Linked DNA regions of Homo sapiens: region 2 is linked to region 1. Evidence: promoter capture Hi-C in 16 types of primary human blood cells and fetal thymus (Javierre and others, 2016). All regions are on one chromosome and are shown on one strand. The core of a region is centred on a gene start or on the middle of the fragment in contact, and the rest is flanking DNA. Distances in the headings are between cores, read along the strand shown.

The links. The method cuts DNA at HindIII sites, captures the fragments that hold promoters and counts their contacts. A CHiCAGO score of 5 or more calls a contact.
Region 2: a contact is called between the fragment with the promoter of PSMD6-AS1 here and a fragment that was not itself captured in region 1, in 1 of 17 cell types (activated CD4 T cells). The highest score is 7.4, in activated CD4 T cells.

The regions. Positions count from the first base shown.
Region 1 is chr3:66,483,288-66,486,631 of GRCh38, reverse strand. The region is part of intron 1 of LRIG1 (leucine rich repeats and immunoglobulin like domains 1); the gene reads left to right. Among named protein-coding and RNA genes, the nearest start is that of LRIG1, 16 kb to the left of the region's middle. The HindIII fragment of the contact is 2,792 bases long and covers 431-3,222 here.
Region 2 is chr3:64,010,184-64,013,527 of GRCh38, reverse strand. PSMD6-AS1 (PSMD6 antisense RNA 1) reads right to left here and starts at 1,564. Exons shown (of 2, transcript NR_189168.1): 1 at 1,486-1,564. PSMD6 (proteasome 26S subunit, non-ATPase 6) reads left to right here. Exons shown (of 8, transcript NM_014814.3): 6 at 1-89; 7 at 2,573-2,650; 8 at 2,764-2,977. The coding sequence ends at 2,860. PSMD6-AS2 (PSMD6 antisense RNA 2) reads right to left here. Exons shown (of 3, transcript NR_038286.1): 3 at 1,285-1,731. The HindIII fragment of the contact is 1,623 bases long and covers 838-2,460 here.

The sequences.
Region 1 (3,344 bases), core at 577-3,076:
AAGTCATAAACATCAGCTATTCAGAATCATTAGTTGAGTCGATTGTGACTTGAGAATCAGAATTTAAGCGTTTGTCTTGAGCTCTTTAAGTTCAGGTGCCTTGCTAACCAGTGAAAAGCCCAGAGCAGTGCAGTATTTCAGGGTCTTCAGGGGAAGATAATGTTGTGTCCTTGTCTTCTCAGAGTCCTGCATTCCAGGCATCTGGTTATGAGGGGCCATGGTTGTGGGGATGCAGCAGCTGTGCGGTTCATGACGCACGGTGGTTAAGAGGCAGCTCTGGGGCCTGGCTGCCTGGGTGACCTTGGCAATTTACTCCACTTCAGTTTCCTTTTCTGTAAAATGGGGATAATTGTAGTGCCGACTTCCTTAAGCTTGTTATAAGGAAAAAAATGAAATATTTAACACAGGGCCTAACACACAAGCAGAAGCTTGAGGAAGGGTAGCTATAATGTTATTATTATAACTGTCGCAATAATAGTGTACCTTTCTGCAGCAGGATATATCTGTGTTAACTGATCATCACCATCTTAACTCTATGAAAAATATTGTCTCTGTTGTATACATGAGGCCCAGAGTAGTTGAATGACTTGTTTAGAGTCTAGCACTTGCCAGTTAGAATTCAGACCTGCGTGTACATGTTTAGAAGAAAATACGGTAAGACTAGCACTGCCTTCTTTCTGGCCTCCCTTTGACGTCTCTGAATTCCTGGAGGCCGATTGGTCTTTGGTGGCTTGAAGCACCTAGTGTAGTTCTGGCTGTACAGCTGGTGCTCTATACATGGTGTCTTGAATGTGATCTTGAAGAGCGTGTTTCTTTGTTGGTAGGCGTGTGTGTCAGATCCATTTTTGGTTTGCCTGTTTGGTAAAGGGGGTGGTAACATGCACATATGTTTTGCCATCTGTTGTTTATTGTTTCTGTTAGGTTGTGGTTTGTGTTCCTGTTCCATGTTCCTTTGGTTTCTGGAGCAACTGCGAATATTATATGCTTGGGGATCAAAAAAAGTAAACTATTTATAAACAGTAAAGTATCCTTGGGTTTGGAAAGTGTTTTTCTCAAATGCGTGTATATTTGTTGGCTTTATGATCATCTCACTGATGAATCGTTAGATAATTTGCAGACTGAGACACATCTAAAAGATGGGCGAGTCATGGTCCAGCCTTGTGTAACCAGCTCACAGACAGCCTTGGTGATAAGGCCCTGGTGTTAACGCTGACCCGAGTGGTGTATTTTTAACTCAAGAACATATAAACAGTTTAGCCTGCTGATGGAGTTTATGCACCGCCTGAAATCTTTGGCATGCCTTGGATTTGTGGCTCTGTAAGATGTACGTAGTCCTGGGAGAGTGCTGTGGCCGCCAGTGACCCACTGCCCCCACCCTTCATTCAAAAGAAAAGGAATGTAGCAGCAAGATGGAAGGAGAAAGGTGGAATTTATCAATAATTTTGTATGATAATTTTTCCTTTTTTTTTTTTTTTTGAGAGGGTCTTAATCTGTCACCCAGGTTGGAGTACAGTGGTGTGATCTTGACTCACTGCAACCTTTGCCTCACAGGTTCAAGCAATTTTCCCACCTCAGCCTCCTGAGCAGCTGAGGCTACAGGTGTGCACCACCATGCCTGGCTAATTTTTGTATTTTTTGGGGGTAGAGACAGGGTTTCATCATGTTGCCTAGGCTGGTCTCGAACACCTGGGCTCAAGCAATCGCTGGCCTCGGCCTCCCAAAATGCTGGGATTACAGGTGTGAGCCACCATGCCTAGCCTGTAGTATAAATTTTATCTTAAATTTTTTTTGTCATTACTATTTCACTTTGTTATGCAGACTTTAGAGGGAGGAGAGAGCTTTTTACTCACATCTGTTTGCAACCCCTTGCCCCCAGCTGTAGGGGTCTTTGCAGAGTTGCAAATTGGAGCACATGAATCCCATTGTTTAAAGCTGTTACTGTCCACCTGCCCCTCATCGCGCTTCTTACCTGGCCCCACCTGTCCCAGCCACCACGTGGGGCTTTTTAAAAAGACTTTTTAAATACCACCATGTCCCATGTCCCTCACCCACCATTTCCTCTGTCTGGAGAATGGGTCTTCCCTCTTCGCCTTGCAGATTTCTGTTCATCTGTCTTAAACGTTTCTCCCCATAGAAACCATGGCTGACGTTCCCTTTAAGTTAGATTCCCATCGTGAGGATTCTGCAGTGCTATGTATAGAAGTTTTGTGTGAATGTTTGATTCGTTTCTGACTACCCCATTAGTCTGTAAGCTCCCTGAATGCAGTGACTGGCTTTGTTTCCAATCCACCATTGTATTCCCAGAATCTAGTGTGAAGCCTGTGACACATTAAATGCTCGTGACAGATACCAGTGTAGATAGAGATAGTGGCATTCATTCTGTAGAGTCCTGTATGTCCTGTGGAAATACCTCTGCCAGATAGAATAATTCAGACCTCCCAGGCTTCATCTGTGTATTTCCTGAATATACCTTGCTTGTTTAGTAGCTTCCTATACCCCTCACCACCCTCCACCAAAGTCTCTTAAGTGTTGAGAAACTTAGAAGAATGGAAAGAAAGAAGAAACAAATAGAACCGAAGTTGAAAAGATGACAGGCTGTTTACCTGCCACATTTAGAATTGGCGGTCTTTTTGGTCTCTCTGAATTTTGGAAAAGTCCCATATGCAAGAATTGTCACTGAAGTGGCTTTGTAGTTAAAGCAGTGCATGTGAACTGTCCCCACATGAGGTCCTCGGGCGCCTCGTCCCTGCTGGATTGCTGGTGGCTGTCCTTGGCAGGTGGGCCAGGCTCAGGCGCTCTCCTCTGTGTTGCGTTTGGCGAGGGAGCCCGCGGTGCCCTTCCCAGCTGTTGACATGGTCTCTCATCTGCTCTTTTGCTGGAGCCGCGTTTTGGAGCCTGCTTTTCCAGAGTTGACACTGCAGGGGAGGGTGGCTTCTTCCATAGACCGAGGCTGTCTAGACACCCTTCCCCTTGTGGTTATTCTGCTCAGTTTATGCTGAGCCCTCGCCAGGCAGCTGGTTTCGGTTGCTTGAGCTCTTACTTTGCTCAGGCCTCTGCTTTGACAAAAAGGATGACCAGGCCAAGGTAGCTTTTCTCCCTCTTTGCTGCTGGCAGAGAGAAAGACTGCTTTCCTTGACCAGAGGGAGCTGTGAGAACACTAAGGACAGGTTACCCTGCCCTCTGTGGACCCAGCCCAAGTAACTATGTAAATTGATAGAAGCTTCTATGGCAGGAGACTTCAGGCAGATACATTTCTAAATCTGGGCCTTTTTAGCTTGGACTTCAGATGTGAGACATTGGCCCCCACCCCCATCCTCAGACACGCAGGATCTCCATCCATGGCA
Region 2 (3,344 bases), core at 315-2,814, 2.5 Mb after region 1:
GCATACAGTCAGCTGCTGGAATCATATAGGTCATTAACCCTTGGCTATATGGCAGAAGCGTTTGGTGTTGGTGTGGAATTCATTGATCAGTAAGTTTGAATAATGCCATGTTAATTGAAGTTTTAAAGTTGCCTTTTAAAATATGTGAACTTGTACAATTTTTTACTTGTTTACATTGGTTCCCTCAATCTTAACGGGGAGGGGAGAGGTTTTTTTCCTCAGTATTATCAAAACATTCGTATCCTGTTGCCTCTGCCTTCCTCATGTCATGTCTGCCCCTTGCATTAACAGATGGGAAGATGAGTTGTAGTGAGGCTAAGTGATTTGTTAAAGGTCATTAGACCAGTTGTTATCAAAAGTTGTCTTCTGTTACTTCTTTGTAGACCACACTGCAGCTACGGTAATGACTCTTAGATCTGATATTTACAGTTGGTCATATTCCCTCTGATAATTCCTTCCAGTTTTTAGGTTGCTGCTGCAATTCTGGTCAGATTGGTTGTTAAATGTGGGACTTTTAGTACTTGCATCAGTGATTAAACAAATAAATACTTAATGAGCCATTCATTACTATATGTTTGGTATTGTTTTACAGCTCCCTTTTCACACTTTCATTGTAGTAGTAGGGAAGAGATGGCAAGGAAGCAAATAAATATAAAACGTAATTTCACATATAGAAATGAACCTATGGAGATGAGAAAATGCTATCCTTACGTACGGCATGCTTAAGGAGGTGAGGTTTGCTCTGAGATTTGAATTGAGAGGAGTCAGCCATATGGAGTCCTTCTGCGTGCAGAAAAGGGAATAGAAAAGGCTAAGGCTTTGAGCCAGGAATAAGCTTGGATGTTGTAGGAACAGAAAATGTCAGGGTGGCTCCAGCATAGTTGGAGTGGTAGGAGATTTTGAGGATAATATATGGAGAGTTAGGTAGGTAATGATTTGTGTAGGGCCTTGTAGGTCATGGGATGGAGCTTGAGTTTTAAGTAAGTTTGATAGGGAGCCATTGGAAGATTTAGAGCCCAAGTTACATGGTCCTATGCAGTGTCTTTATATAAGAAATAGAGTAAGGTGGCAGAGAGGACCAGTTGTGCTGTTTAGTAGCTCTTAGAGGAGATGTTACCGTGGCGTGGACGAGGGTGGTGAGAGTAGAGTTGGGTAGGAGACATACTCAATATGGGATGTCCAGATGGCATCTAGATCAGTGGCTCCCACATGTAGGTGTTTTTAAATGTTGATGATGGTGTTTTCAATGGTCTGCAGTGGAAACTTTAAATGAAGATGCATTTCTTTTAAATAAGACCATTCTCTTTCTAGTATTTTTTAAATTTCGAACATCCATAAAATTGTAAAGAAAGAATTGTACAGTACATTTTAACATATTTGCTTGTTACAATCTATACATTTTATGTTTTTTAACCACTTCAAAGTAAGTTTCAGACACCAACACATTTTTTAAATGATCCCTACCATTTTTTAAATGATCCCTACCAAAATGGAAGGCTGGTATCCCAAGGTTTTGTTCCATTTCTCAATTCTAGTCTGTGAAATTGAAGTCTGATGACCACTCTTAAGAGGGCTGTTCATTAGGGTGCGGGCTGGGCATTATGAGTGTGTTTTTCATGAGTCAGTGGAAGGAGGGGCTTGTTGTGAGCAGTGCATGAGAAAAACGGCTTGGCTTTGCTTCTTTTTCCAGCTCTGTGGCCTTGGTCAGGTTACGTCTCTTCAGTATCGTAACTGTAATGTGGAGATAAAGCCTTCATTAGTTAGGGGCACACACCGCAGTATTCCTTAAGTCATCTTGATGACAAGTGAATGCAAGGCAGCTGGTACCTTTCAGGTAGTAGTTGAATTCAGGTAGTATTTGTTCAGTTTTTTTTTTTTCCCTTCATGTTCTAAGACCAGCTTGAGAGGCAAAGGTTGTACCACTGAGCTCTAGTTGTTGTTACCTAAAAAGGCCTTGTTTTAAATTTCTGTGATACCTAAGAATTTCAAATCTGGGTTGTCATGGATTCTTTATTCTTTTTTTCTCCCTTAAAAAGTTACATTTTAGATGAAATCCCCTTTTTTAAAATGGGCAAAGCAATAATTCTACATCATTTCTCCCCTTCCCTTCCACTTGTTTAGACTAAGATATGTTAGAGAGGGAAAGGGTCGTTGTTTTAGTAAATACTATTGCTGTTGACATGTTAATACTATTGCTGTTGACATGTTTACTGATGGGCTGTGTTCCATAATTTTGTTTTAGGTCTTTTGTTTGAAACAGTTTACTGTTTTTATCAGTTTTGGTCCCTAATTTTTCCTAACCTACAGTTTTTCTCTGAGTACATATGGTTTCATTGTTTGATCTACTTTCTATCTATCTGAATATGAACTTCTAGGATCATGTTTATTCTAGTAGATGATGACTTAAAGCCTGCAGTATAGGAGGGACAACGTCAACTACTGCATGTGCAATAACAAGCTTGAAGGGAAGCTAAATGTTTGTTACAAATTTAAGACAGTATTTTAATGCCGTTTGCATTTTTCTAAGAATTTTCTATAAAGCTAATTCTGTTATTTTTTGTCTCTAAATTAGGGAACTGTCCAGGTTTATTGCTGCCGGGAGACTACACTGCAAAATAGATAAAGTGAATGAAATAGTAGAAACCAACAGGTACTCTCATTTCTCAGAATAAGGGGCATTCCTAAATTTTAAAAGTAGGTCAACTATTGTCATGGAATAATGTGACTGGTAAATAATTCATTTTTTCTTGAATTTATTTATAGACCTGATAGCAAGAACTGGCAGTACCAAGAAACTATCAAGAAAGGAGATCTGCTACTAAACAGAGTTCAAAAACTTTCCAGAGTAATTAATATGTAAAGCCATGTAACTAACAAAGGATTTGCTTTAGAGATAATTATTTGGAATTTTTATAGCTTACTTCACAATGTGCCCAGGTCAGCTGTATAAAATAAATACTGCATTGTTGTTTCTTTCCATTTATTTTTTTCTTAAACACATAGGCCTTCTAGAATCGGGTCCACTTATGTTAAAATAATGTCACTTGAATTATTCATTAATGAAAATCTGGTTTATAGGGTAAGGTTGCAGCTGGGTTCAGCTAGGTTCAGCTCCTGACTGCCTCATCAGTAAAATACGTCAGTAAAATACGGATGTTGACACAGCCCATTATCGCTTACCTTTAAATCTCTTACCTGTAAGCTTCCCGATTTTAGAAAGAAGAGTAGTGGCCTAAAATTAAACAAACAGTGTCTCCCACTTTTAGTATACAAAAGATAGAAGATAAAGAAAATGTGTAATAAGCTTTCCCTCAGAAACAAGTAACCATATAAGGCAGGAAGTT